3 separate regions of the Homo sapiens genome follow, and all the other regions are linked to region 2. Evidence: promoter capture Hi-C in 16 types of primary human blood cells and fetal thymus (Javierre and others, 2016). All regions are on one chromosome and are shown on one strand. Each heading gives the region's core, a stretch centred on a gene start or on the middle of the fragment in contact. The rest is flanking DNA. Distances are from core to core; before and after follow the strand shown.

Region 1 (4,346 bases), core at 1,168-3,667, 3.1 Mb before region 2:
AAGGTGCAAAAAAGTTGTACCTTCACATTTACAGAAACACTCTAAACTTTTTTTTCAGGGGGAAAAAAAGCTAGGACTGACAAATGAGAGAATGACTTTCACATAACCCCAGTTTGACTTTATCACCCAAATAATTTAAGAGTTTCCACTTCTCACAAAAATCAATACAAAAACATCATTCTTACTACTTCAGGGACAAATTTCCTTTCTCTTTTATGTATGCGAGGATTTGGGTTTGTTTTAAGGTCTGAACTGGTTAAATTTAGTGTTCTGGCAGCTGAAAAACAATCATCATAATTCTCAAGTTCTCCATCCTATTCAATCTTTGCCACGCTAAGCTGCATGAAGCCATGGCTCCATATGGCTTAAACACATTTGAGACCTGGTGTAGGATCACATTAAACCCTTCAGTGCCTATCAGATACACAATAACCTAATTAGCTAGCAGAGCACATGTGACAGTGGCCTGGCCAGAAACGCAGTGGAAGACACTTCCTTCAACTCTTTCACCAAAGACGAGGTGAGCACTTTGCAAAGGGGAACTGGGAGAAAATAGGGAAAGGTGGAGAGGAAAATGTGGAGGGAAGTGTGCAGCTAGGGTTTTCAAAGAACATTACAGTAAACAGAAATGGCACCCACAGGGGGTGCACTGTAGAAAAAGCAATCATCTTTTTTGCAACACATACAATGTGGAATAGATGACCTCTCTGAATTTTGCACCTCTAACTTTCCACTGAACCTTTCAGAAAGTTACTAGTGAGGTTGAGGTCTGAGGAGCTTAAGTGCCCAAACCACATTTTGGTGTCATTTCCCTGCAAAAGAAATGCGGTATCTATGCCTAACTGCCAAGGTATTTTAGCTCATATACAGGGATAGATAAGCTTCTAAAAAATTACATTTGTTTCTCCTACCAGATATTCCCAGGCTGTGGCCACCAGATTTTCAAACAGCCTAGGGGTAAAGCATTAAACACGAAGTGAGTACAACAAAATTATTCACAGACAAGAAAAGTGTGGATGCTAATGGGTAACACTAAGGGAAATAAACACATGTTGTTTTTAATCCAAGACAAACCAAAACCCTTAAAAACACCTATTTTATAACTCTTAACAACCACAGCCTCTGTATCAAAGACTCAAGAACTTGGATTTACCGAAAAGTCAATTTGCAGTACCAAAATTACCGAGATTAGCCTCTGGCTGTCGACACTGACTTAAGAACCTGCTTTAGGCTGGAGCTGTTTAAAATTTAAACCAAAGTAAACTCCTTCAGGACCTTAAGACTACTGACTGTACTTTAAATTTTTTCTGCACACTGAAGAGGGGGCAGGCAGGCTTCGGTACCCAGATAGGCTGTAAGCAAAACAAAGATTTGTTGATTTGTGCGTAGACTCTAAATTGCTGCTGTAGGTCCGTTAAGTAAGAGAAAACTCTTTTTCTCTGTTAAGTCATACAGATAAATTTAGTCGGTAGCTCTGCATAGAAAGTGGGGACAAGCGTGCCCTGAAGGGCCGCATCATAACGCCGACCCCGGCTCGGTGGGGGCCAGTCGGCAGCTTCTCTCTTCAGCCGTGGGCGCTGGGGCCGAGCACGGTGGAGAAAGGCCGGCGAGCCGCTGGTTCCCGGCCTATGGCTACTCGGGCGAGGCCTAGGAGAGGCCGCGCCGGCTGAGGAAAACCGGTAAATGCGAGGAGCTCCCACACCCTATCTGCAATCCGGGACTCAGAAGCCCTCCCCGAGGCCAGGGCCCGCACCTGCCGCCCCGCCCGCCGCGCCTCAGGCCTCTGGCCCGTGGGACTCACAGCTTCAGCTGCTCGTAGGCCGCCGTCGCCATCCTGCACAACCACCTCCTTCCTTCTCTCTCCGCCCGCCCCGCCCCGCGCCGCCACCTCGGCTACAACTCTACCGGTCACCCTGGCACAGCGGCCGCAGCTCCCAGCCTCTTCCCACCCCTTTCCCCGCCCCGCAGGAGAGCCGGCCTGAACGGGAGGCGGTGGAGGACAAATTAGTGCGCAAGCAAGAGCACGCGAGAGATGCCGCCGACGCGGCGGGTTGGAGTGCGACGAAGAGCGCCGTGACGAAGCCGCTGCGGATTGGTGGGGCGCGTTTTGGGGAAAGGCAGAGCAGCGGGAGCGCGGCGCAAGGGCAAAATGGATCGTTGGTACCCGGAAGCCCGTTCAAACTGTATAAGGGTGATCAGCTATCACGGAGAAGGCTTTAGCAAGTCGGGGCCAGTGGCGCAATGGATAACGCGTCTGACTACGGATCAGAAGATTCTAGGTTCGACTCCTGGCTGGCTCGCGATGTCTGTTTTGCCACACTTGACCCATGTACTACTGGGTCTTGTAAAGATGTATATTCACAATGTGAAAGTATTACAAGACCTTGGAAAGGTGTATGGTTAGAATGTGAAAGTTAAATATCTGAAATTTTGATGCCGCTTTGCTCACAATGTCATCCTTTATCCTTTAAACCTGGAGTTGTCTGAGGTGGTTTGCAAACTGCAAAGCGCCCTGTTCCCAATGATGCACCTGAGAAGTCTGTAAATGGGGTAAATTTAGGCAAACACACCTGGAAAAGTGGCATTTTGGAGTGGGGAATGCTGTGGCCGGAGGTTAGCAACCGGATGATGCAAAAGCGTATTTAAGGCAGCAGTTCTGGCCTTTCCCCGCCACGGAGCAGAAGCCCCCATAGTGATGTGAGAAGCGGCGCTGTCCCAGTTTACTAGGATGGGATGGGCTTTGGATCTAACCAGCAGCGAAGAAAACCTGCGGTGCGGCTGCGCTCGGTAGTAGGGGTCCACAAAGCGTCAGAATCTGCAGCAGCCCCGGCCTTTGCGAGCTCCAGCTCCGAAGTCAACCCGGCCCCCAAATTCCACTGGGAAACCTTAAGACACCGGTGTTTTTACCGTAAGAAGACCTCAGGTAATCTAGTATATTACCCCTCATTGTATGGATGCGCGACTTGGACACCCGAGAAGGCGCGAAACGTCTGCGGCCTAAAGGGACTCGAACCGGGGGATTATATGAGTCATCGGACACTGTCCGTTAACCAATCACTCAATCGATCAATTAATTTCCGCAACATAACGTTTTCCCCTGATAAAATTATAGATTTTTAAAATATATAAAATTATTGGGAATATTAACGCGATTCCCACCCTAAATCATTACTATTATTTTTTTTTTCCTTAAAGCCTTTTTTTCTTCTATATTTTTTAACATGGGCATACTTGCACATGTGTTTTTCCAAATTGGGGTTGTACGGAAATGGGTTCCTCATTTTGTCTCCTTACCTTTTTGTCTGAGATTTAAGGTCATTAAATATTCTTTGAAGATATTTCATCAGAGAGCTAGATATTTTAAGCAGAATCCTTATGCTGGGAATTTGGGTGGTTGTCAGTTTAACACCTAGAAAAAATGATGCTGCTTAGGAGTTCGAGACCAGCCTGGGCAACATAGCAAGACCTCATCTCTATTTACTAAATAAATAAATAAATTTTAATTAGCCAGGTGTGGTGGTGTGCACCTATAGTCCTAGCTACTCAGGAGGCTGAGGTGGGAGGATCACCTCAGCCCAGGAGGTTGAGGCTGCAGTGAGCTGTTACCATGCCACTGCACTCCAGCCTGAGCAACAGAATGAGACCCTGTGTTGAATTATTATTATTTTGAGACGGAGTCTCGCTCTGTCACCCAGGCTGGAGTGCAGTGGCGTGATCTCGGCTTACTGCAGTCTCTGCCTCCCGGGTTCAAGCAATTCTCCTGCTTCAGCCTCCCAAGTAACTGGGACTACAGGTGTGTGCCACCACGCCCGACTAATTTTTTGTATTTTTTAGTAGAGACGGGGTTTCACCGTGTTAGCAAGGATGGTCTTGATCTACTGATCTCGTGATCCGCCCACCTCAGCCTCCCAAAGTGCTGGGGTTAGATGTGAGCCACTGTGCCCGGCCGAATTATTTGTCTTACAAATTTCTAGAGGTGGAACGACCAGGTGGACATCTGTAAGGTCCATTTTATGGACATTTTTAAGACTTTTGTTACTTTCTGACTGCCCTCCAAAAAATTAAACCAAAACACACTTCCATCAACAGCACCTGTTTCTCTGTTTTCGTGCATGCTAACCAACACTGGCTATTATAAATTTAACCGTGATTTGCAATTTTCATAATTGGAATATGGAACTTCCTTTTACATGTACTTTATATATTTTCTCTTGATGTATTGAATTTTTTCTTACAAATTTGATTTTTTAATATATTAAGGGTATTAACTCTTAAATACGTTGCAATCTTTTTTCCAGCTTATGATTTACCTTTTCAAAATTTTTTTAACGGCTGGGCACGGTGGC
Region 2 (4,480 bases), core at 745-3,244:
AGGTCCATCAAGGCTTTCTAGTAACACTTATTTAAAAAAAAAAAAAAAAAAGATCAATCAAGGCTAAAAACATTAAAAAGAGAGAGAAGGCAACCAAATTTCCAGGATTATCTCATCCCTTTGCTCGAAACCCTTTAATATCTTCCTACCTCACTGAGTCAGTCCTACAGGCCATTTCTTACTATTCTCTTTCCTCTTCTACTCCAGCCACACTGGGCACCCTGCTGTCCCTCAAACATGCAAGTACAGTCCTCCATTGTTTAATAACCAGGACGGATTCTGAGAAATGTGTAATTAGGCAATTTCGTCATTGTGTGAACATCATGGAATGTATTTAAACACACCTAGATGGTACGGCCTACTACACACCTAAGCTATATAGTCTATTTGCTCCTAGGCTACAAACCTGTACAGGATGTTACTCCACTGAATACCGTAGGCAACTTTAACACAATGAAGTATTTGTATATCTAAACACAGCTAAACATTAAAAAGTTACCAAAAAAAGGTATTATATATAAGACCATTGTTAAAGATAGAAATGTCATTTGGCGCCTGACTGTATACTACTCCTCACCTCAGGGCTGTGCTGTTTCCCTCTACCACGAATGCTCTTCTTAAATACGGCTCACTTCATCTCCTTCTGATACCTGCTTAAATCTCATCTTCTCAAAATGGCCTTGTCTGACCAACTTATTAAAATAGTATCCCAACTACAAGTCACTGTTATTTTTTTCCTAGTTGTCCGTCTTCCCCCCAATAGAATATAAACTATAAAAGGAAGAGGCCTTTGTTTTATGCGCTGCTCTATCTCCAGACCCTAGAACAGTAGCAGGCTCTCATAAGAATATGCAGAACAAGATGTTGCACAAAGACAACACATATATATATGTCTCCAATTAAAACTTTTGTCACGGATAACAAAAAAAGCTAAGAAAACAGTTTGAAACCCTGCACGCTCTGCTACTTAGAATGAAATAACTATGCTTTAGAAGGAAATGTTTCATTTAAAAAAAATACACTAACAAATGTCTGGATTCCCTAAAGACAAACATTAATGCTAAGTGCATGCATGCTGCAATTCTGCTGGTACAAAATGCTCTGGTTTATCACAAAAGATCTTCACTAAGCCATTTTCCCAGGAACCACGAAATTCTAGCTAAAGATTCTTAAGGAAAAATAGAGGCAAAATTAACATATTAGTGATATATCGTGATTAGGAAACACACAATATTTCCTACTAGTTGAAACTTCATAGCACCAAGCAAGATAACCGGAAATCGGATCGGGAGTGTCTGCCTCACGGAGACACTGGGAGAGAAAAAGTCCTCAAAGAACTGCACCTCCTTTTCTTGGCGCCAGGCTGGCTACGAGGACTCAGTCCGGAGATGCAGCGGGGTGTGTGGGGTTTGGCAGGAAGAGGCCCGGACTGCGAGTTAGGGGTGTGCCCAGGCCACCTTCCTCTCCCACTGATTTTCTCTCAAGAGAAAACGGAAAGTTGCCTGCGCCTCCTACCCGCTCCCAAAAAGGCCGGGGGAGGGTTGCTGAGGGTAGACCCCTCCCCTTCGCCAAGGCAGGCCTCGGCCCCAGCAGCGCTCCCCAGTTTCCAGCTCACCCGGCTCCCGGTTGATCTCGATGTCGAAGTGGCACTGCGGCCGGTCCTGCGCCCCCATCGCGACCGAGGTGGCGGCAAGAGCTGGGAGAGAGGGGGAGAAAAGCGGTCAGGGCAGGGGCGAGGGCGGGGGCGAGGGCAGGGGCGAGGGCGGGGCTGAGACGAAGTCCGCGCCACGGTGCCTCACGCCGGCCCGTCGCGACAGCGCAGGAGGCCAAGACGAGGCCCCCTCCCGCCCCGGGCCTCGCGGCTCCCACGCAGCGCGCACGCATGCGGGCGAGCTCTTCACCTGGCTGGCCTCCAGCCTGAGCGGGTCCCCGTGAGCAGAAGAGAAAGCACTGCCACTGCAGCCAAACCCCAACGCCGCTAACGGAACGCCGTCTCCTCCCCCAGGCCGGGCCTCCCAATGCCACGCTAAACCCCGCGAGAGTCGGGACAAATACCGCGAGAGTACAGTCTAGATGGGGGTGGTCAACCGAAGGTGGCGGCAGCGGGGGCGTACGCACGGGGGCGTACGCACGGGGGCGTGTCTGGGGAGCTCTCGAGGAGCCTCCAGCCAGCGCTCCTATACCTGCGCGTTCCCTGTTTGCCCCCCCCTTTGAAGTCAGTCGCCCAATCTGAAAGCCGTGGATGCGCCTGCGCCCTCCATCTCGTCAGGTGTGGCTGTGAGCGCCGCGCATTTTCCGATACCGCGAGACTTCTCTGTTTCCGAGCGCTGTGAAGGAACTGAGTGAATTGAGGCTTTGAGTTTTCGTTAGCCAAGACGTTGTGTTGCTCTGTGTTCTTTTTGGCCGGGAGTGGTTATGTCCGTGTCCTACTGTTAGGTCTTTTAGGCTGAAGAATGCGTTCCTTCCCGCTTTGGCACCAGCGTCACTGGCACCGTTTTTGTCCTGTGCTTACTGACCATTCTGCATCTTTTGTGAAGTTTCAGTTCCAGTCTTCTGCCCGTTTTTAAATCTGGTCCTTCGTGTTTAACAGTTCTGGATACAAATGTTTTGTTAGATATATGTATGCTCTGAATGAAAATCTTTTGTTACATAAATGATTGCGAAGTCTTTTTCCCAATCTGGGCCTGTCGTTTCATTGTTTTGACGTTTTTGGCAAAGAAGTTTTTAATTCTGATTAAGTCAATTGGTCAGTTTTATATTTTAATGGTTTGTGCTTTTCCTGTGCTAGGAAATCTCTGCCTACCTCAAGTTCTTGAAGATATTCTGTGTTCTCATATATGTTTTACATAGTCTTTAACGTGTAAGTCTATGATATGATCTAATATCATTAATTTTTGCTTATGTTGTCAAGTAAGTGTCAACATTTTCCTATTGGGATATACAGTCGTTCCATTACCGTTTGTTGAAAAGACTCTTTTTTTTTTTTTTGAGACGGAGTCTCGCTCTGTCGCCCAGGCTGGAGTGCAGTGGCGGGATCTCGGCTCACTGCAAGCTCCGCCTCCCGGGTTCACGCCATTCTCCTGCCTCAGCCTCCCAAGTAGCTGGGACTACAGGCGCCCGCCACTACGCCCGGCTAATTTTTTGTATTTTTAGTAGAGACGGGGTTTCACCGTTTTAGCCGGGATGGTCTCGATCTCCTGACCTCGTGATCCGCCCGCCTCGGCCTCCCAAAGTGCTGGGATTACAGGCGTGAGCCACCGCGCCCGGCCTGAAAAGACTCTTATACATTGAATTACCTTCGCCTTGTGACCATATATGTGTGGGTCTGTTTCTGGATTTTTGTTCCAATGATCTGTGTCTGAGTACCACACTATTTTATAAGTTTTTTTTTTAAACTATAAAATACACATTACATGGGCGGGCGTGGTGGCTCATGCCTGTAATCCCAGCACTTTGGGAGGCCGAGGCAGGCGGATCACGAGGTCAGGAGATCGAGACCATCCTGGCTAACACGGTGAAACCCTTTCTCTACTAAAAATACAAAAAATTAGCCGGGCGTGGTGGCGGTCGCCCGTAGTCCCAGCTACTCGGGAGGCTGAGGCAGAAGAATGGCGTGAACCTGGGAGGCAGAGCTTGCAGTGAGCCGAGATCGGTCCACTGCATTCCAGCCTGGGTGACAGAGCGAGACTCCGTCTCAAACAAAAAAAATCTATCTATAGATCTATAGATCTACAGATATCTAGATATCTATAGATCTATAGATATATATACACATTATGTGAAAGTTGCCATTTTAACCATTTTTAAGTGTACAGTTCGCTGGCATTAACTGTATTTCACACGGTTGTACAACCCTCAGTACCTCCCATCCGTCCACAGAACATTTTCCATCTTGCAAAACTGAAACTCTGTATTATTAAACAGTAACTCCCCATTTCCCTCTTTTCCCAAGTTCCTGGCAGCCACCCTTCTACTTTCTCTCTGTAAATTTGTCTACTCTAGTATTTGTCTACTCATATGTGAGTAAAATCATGTAATATTTGTTCTTGTAGGCTAGGTGCGGTGGCTCACACCTGTAATCCCTGCACTCTGGGAGGCTGAGGCGGGTGGATCACATGAGGTCAGGAGTTCGAGACCAGCCTGGCCAACATGATGAAACGCCGTCTCTACTAAAAATACAAAAAATTAGCAGGGCGTGGTGGCAGGCACCTGTAATCCCAGCTACTCAGGAGGCTGACGCAGGAGAATCACTTGAACCCGGGAGGCAGAGATTGCAGTGAGCCGAGATTGCGCCACTGCACTCCAGCCTGGGTGACAGTGCGAGACTCTGTCTCAAAAAAAAAAAAAAAAAAATTTGTTCTTTTGTAGCTGGGTGATTTCACTCAGCATGTCTTCCATTTCATCCATGTTGTAGCATGTCAGAATTTCCTTTTTTGAGGCTGAATAATATTCCATTGTATGTGTATATCATATTTTGTCT
Region 3 (4,734 bases), core at 1,639-4,138, 3.2 Mb after region 2:
CTTTAATAGAATTTCTAGATATTTAGTGGCACAAGTCTACACAAAATGAAATTATAAAGTTCAACATACTGCCAGATGCCCAGCATGTATGTTGAAAAGGTCTTACAGGCTGGGCGCAGTGGCTTACGCCTGTAATCCCAACACTTTGGGAGGCCGAGGTGGGAGGATCACTTGAGATCAGGCGTTTAAGACCAGCCTGGCCAAATGGTAAAACCATGTCTCTACTAAAAATACAAAAATCAGTCAGGCATGGTGGCACATGCCTGTAATTCCAGCTACTCGGGAGGATGAGGCAGGAGAATCCCTTGAGCTTAGGAGGCAAAGGCTGCAATGAGCCGATATCACACCACTGCAGTCCAGGATGGACAACAGGCAACAGAGCGAGAGACTGTCTTGAAGGAAAAAAAAAAAAAAAAAAAAAAAGGAAGGTCATAGGTCATAAGGGCGATTTCTATGGCTCAGTCCAACTTAAGATCTCTTAACAGTGGAGTTTGAGTTTTCTATTTTCTTTTTTTTTTTTTTTGAGACAGAGTCTCGGCTCTGTCACCCAGGCTGGAGTACAGTGGCGCATCTCAGCTCACTGCAAGCTCCGCCCACCGGGTTCACGCCATTCTCCACTTTGGCCTCCTGAGTAGCTGGGACTACAGGCACCCGCCCCCACGCCCAACTAATTTTTTGTATTTTTAGTAGAGATGGGGCTTCACCGTGGTGTGGATCTCCTGACCTCGTAATACGCCGGACTCCACCTCCCAAAGTGCTGGGATTACAGGCGTAGCCACCGCGCCCGGCCTGAGTTATTTCTGTTTTCTTATGTCTTTCTATGTCTCACAATGTCTGTAAGCTTTATTTCTATAATATAAAAACTAACCACTGTTCCACAAACCTGGCCAGTATTCCTGGAGGATATAACACTGACATCAGCAGGGTTTTCAATGGCAACAATTGCACGAGCTGCCAGCAGAAGCTTCTCCCAGGTCCTCTTGAGATTTATGATATAGATGCCTAAGTGAGGGCAGAAGGATTTGTAACACTTGACCTGGCTGTGCAAACATTCTTCTCAAGTTTACTCTATGTGGCAGCGAGTACTACCAAACTCCAGTCATAGAGGCAAGCTCTACTGGTGTTAGCGAAAATCCTGCCATTGATATAGCACACTTCCGACACTCAGAAGTTCATGAGCCAAGACTGGCCTCCACCCTGAGCTTTAATAGTGTGCAGCCTAGATTCAGTTGGCTAAATCCATCTTTCCTTTCTCTTTCCCTGTACTTATTCCATCATTGGTTCTTAATAATCCACTTCCTGGCTTTCTGCCACTCTTTCCCTTTTATAATCTGCACTGATGCAAGATTCATCCTAAAACTCCTTTACAGCATGTCACTCCCAAGTCCTTGGTAGCTTTATCTCTAAAATAAGTAAGTGCCTTAGCCAACTTAATGCCTTCCATCCTCTGGTTCTTCCAAACCATATTGTTCATTCCCACCTCTTACCCCACTTTCCACTCAAAATTCAGTTCAATAGCCTGTGTAAGTACCTATGAAGTTGAAGGCACTATGCGAGCTATTAGAAACTCAGCCAATGAACTTTCTCATGTTCATGACCCAACCCAAGTCCCGTAACTCAGACAACTGACATATTCCTCCCCTGGAGCAGAAATCTTTTCTCTCAATAACAAGAACATTTATTTAAAGTATGTTTTCAACGTAGGGGTCTGGCTTCATTTAAGGAAGATAGAAAGAAATTACCCAGAACTAACCACGAGAATAGCAAGCTCAAAATTTGTACTTACAGCTGGAGTAACAAAAAATTAAAGCAATGACTAACCATCACTTTTCCTTTTATAGATGTACTGTTCCATCTGGAAGTCAAGATTGGTGCCACCTAAGTGGGTTCCTGCTGCAAGGAACTTAAGGACATCCTCCTCCTTCATTTGCAGGACATCAAGGGCTCCGGACATTGTGAAAATTTCCCTTTAAGTTACGACGGGAATCTGAAATAAGAGAGCAACCTATTTCTTTTCATTCCATTGAGTTAAGTAGGGCACACCCTTAAAAGCAACCAAAAACTCCATCTGCTATAGTGTCAGGCATTGAGCTTACAGTGTAGTGAAGGGTAAACAGAAAGTTAACCCATACATGTCGTGTATTACGGAACAGCGCACATCTTACTGAGGAAATAGTGTGGACGGCAGAGTAACCGAGTAATAAAACTACACGAAATTAGCGAATGGAAATTCAACACTTCTCAAGATAGGAATTAAGGAAAAGTTGTGGATGCGCCAAGTTAACAACTAGATACAAAAGAGCAGCCATGTTTGGAATATGCAAACTAAAGGCAAAAAAGGCATGAATTGTTTTCAGACATTTTCAAGCAGATTGTAGGCGGATGCTTTGGAATTACTTCGCTGTGCTGTCACCACTTGTTTGTCTAAAAACCCGAGAACCTTAACTCCTGACCCGCACGGCGCGAAGGGAAAACCCGACCAGCCCAAGTAGCTGGTGTAAATCAGCGCCTGGGCCTAGACTCACCGCCGTGTGGGACTCCGAAGGGATAGCAACACAGGATGTTAGCCCGCTTTCTGCACTCCCGCCCACCCGCGGCCTGGTCCGAACCCCAGCTCGGAGCCTCCGCTGGAGGGCGGCCTCCACCCGCTCCCGGGGCACTCTGGGAACCCGCCAGCCCGAGCCTGGCCACGTGCGGGCCGCAGGCCTAAGGTGGGGCGCGCCGGGCGGGAGACAGATCCAGTCTGACCGGCTTTCATCACTAGTCTTCTCACCCTTCATTTGAGCAGGAAAAGCTCATTTTTCTAGCCCTGGAAGGCGCCAGGGACGCTACACGGAACTCACCCAGAACAACGCCGTATGGACCCCTCTGCAGGTAGCACGGAAAAGACAGGCGGCAGGAAATGACGTCCTTATGTACTCCGTTGTCAGCCAATGGCAAAGAAAGTCGAGCGGAAGAAGGGCGGAGCCGGAGAAGAACGCTGCCGGGACTGGGCTTTTTCTTCAGGAAGGCGGGCTTGCGCCGCAGGAGCGGGCCTCTGGGCTGTAGCCGGTAGCGGCATCCTGGTCGGATCTGGGGCGCTTGTGACTTTGGGGTTTCTAGTGCCACAGCGACGCCCTGTGCATAATTCCTGTCCAGAGCGCGGAACTCAAGTTAGTCAGCCAGGCGGGGCGTTCTTACCCAGCCCTTGTACCTGCGAATATGAGCGGCTTTCTAGCCTAAGCTGCCATTTTGTTACCTGAAAAGTAGGAAGGTTTGTTCGACACAACAAATTGTTAGGTAAACAAAAACTTGAAGATTTATTTTATTTTATTTTCCTGGAGAACAGTTTAACAGGACGTAATTCAGATTTAAATGTTCACTTAAGGGAAGTTTTCTCTGAAAAAGTTAAAAAAGATAAGATTGAACTGATCGTATGCGTTATGTCTATCTCATGTATCTATCCATCTATCACCTGGGGGAAGTTTCCCTGAAAAAGTTAAAAAGGACAAGATTGAACAGATGGTATGGATTATATCTATCTTTTTTTTTTTTTTTTTTTTGGTAGAAGAAAAATTTTGCAATATCCATCAGTAGGAGATAAGTTTGCCGGGCGCGGTGGCTTGTGCCTGTAATCCCAGCACTTTGGGAGGCCGAGGTGGGTGGATTGCCTGAGCTCAGAAGTTCAAGACTAGCCTGGGAAACATGGGGAGACCCCCATCTCCACAAAAAATACAAAAATTAACCAATCATGATGGTGCGTCCCTGTAGTCTCAGCTACTCAGGAGGCTGAGGCAGGAGGATAGCTTGAGCCTAGAGGTCAAGTCTGCAGTGAATGTGATTGCACCGCTGCACTCCAGCCTGGGCAATAGAGCGAAATTCTGTCTCCAAAAAACAAACAAAAAAATAGGAGTTAATTGAAGGGGCGCGGTGGCTGTAATCCCAGCACTTTCGGAGGCTGACGCGGGCGGATCCCTTGAGGCCAGGAGTTCAAGAGACCAGCCTGGCCAACATGGCGAAACCCGGTATCTACTAAAAATTCAAAAATTAGCCAGGCATGCCTGTAATCCCAGCTACTGGGGAGGCTGAGGCGGGAGAATTGCTTGAACCCAGGAGGCAGAGGTTGTAGTGAGTGGAGATTGCGCCACTTGCACTCCAGCCTGGGCGACAGAGTAAGACTCCGTCAAAAAAAAAAAAAGTGCAGGTTCCTCTCTGGGGCCTGCTGAGTCAATCTGATTTCTGAGCCCACCCTAAAATGAACTCGTAGACCCTTATGGCCACTCTTCCAAAGGACAGCACATCCAGGTTCTCCTGCAAGTGGCTCTGCAGCTCCACTGAAGCCAGTATGATTTTCTGAGGAGCTTGGAAACCCTTGGACCCTAGCACAGGTCACCCCCAGGCTGCTCTGCTTCATCACCCACCAAGGCTGAAGCACCTGGGGCTTGAGGGACAAATTCAGAGAAGTCACAGCCCCTTGCGGCAAATGCAAATGCCTCCCGCTTCTACGCTTTGTTATGGGAAGAGGAGGCATTCAGTTTGTTGGCAGAAACTCAGGCCACAAGCCTCCTCAGAGGCCCCTGAGTCCCAAAACAATGCCCTGCCCCCTGCACCCAAATGTACTCCTGCTTAACCCTTCACGTGTGGATTGGGATTGCTGAGTAGTGAGTGCAGCTCTGCAGGGTTCCTCCAGGGGCCTCAGCCTTGGCATTAGGATCACCTGGGCAGCTTTTAAAATCTTACACCTGGGCTGAATAT

Evidence for each region. Contacts are between HindIII fragments. The CHiCAGO score rates a contact against its expected background, and 5 or more counts as called.
Region 1: a contact is called between the fragment with the promoter of LIMD1-AS1 here and the fragment with the promoter of NKTR in region 2, in 1 of 17 cell types (neutrophils). The highest score is 5.3, in neutrophils.
Region 3: a contact is called between the fragment with the promoter of RPSA here and the fragment with the promoter of NKTR in region 2, in 2 of 17 cell types (monocytes and total B cells). The highest score is 7.7, in monocytes.

The regions. Positions count from the first base shown.
Region 1 is chr3:45,686,953-45,691,298 of GRCh38, reverse strand. LIMD1-AS1 (LIMD1 antisense RNA 1) reads left to right here and starts at 2,417. Exons shown (of 3, transcript NR_033947.1): 1 at 2,417-2,923. SACM1L (SAC1 like phosphatidylinositide phosphatase) reads right to left here and starts at 1,903. Exons shown (of 20, transcript NM_014016.5): 1 at 1,802-1,903. The coding sequence starts at 1,833. TRR-ACG2-1 (tRNA-Arg (anticodon ACG) 2-1) reads left to right here and starts at 2,228; the gene lies at 2,228-2,300. RefSeq lists a silencer at 1,712-1,891 and enhancers at 1,922-2,211, 2,472-2,521, 3,032-3,101. The HindIII fragment of the contact is 5,339 bases long and covers 884-4,346 here.
Region 2 is chr3:42,598,200-42,602,679 of GRCh38, reverse strand. NKTR (natural killer cell triggering receptor) reads right to left here and starts at 1,994. Exons shown (of 17, transcript NM_005385.4): 1 at 1,902-1,994; 2 at 1,616-1,696. The coding sequence starts at 1,673. It also overlaps a transcript of SEC22C not described here. RefSeq lists a silencer at 1,691-1,900. The HindIII fragment of the contact is 13,164 bases long and covers 1-4,480 here.
Region 3 is chr3:39,404,874-39,409,607 of GRCh38, reverse strand. It overlaps RPSA (ribosomal protein SA), which reads right to left and starts at 2,888. Exons shown (of 7, transcript NM_002295.6): 1 at 2,844-2,888; 2 at 1,822-1,987; 3 at 884-1,002. The coding sequence starts at 1,954. It overlaps SNORA6 (small nucleolar RNA, H/ACA box 6), which reads right to left and starts at 1,217; the gene lies at 1,069-1,217. RefSeq lists enhancers at 1-790, 2,855-2,994, 2,376-3,167 and silencers at 1,060-1,109, 2,505-2,684. The HindIII fragment of the contact is 4,276 bases long and covers 967-4,734 here.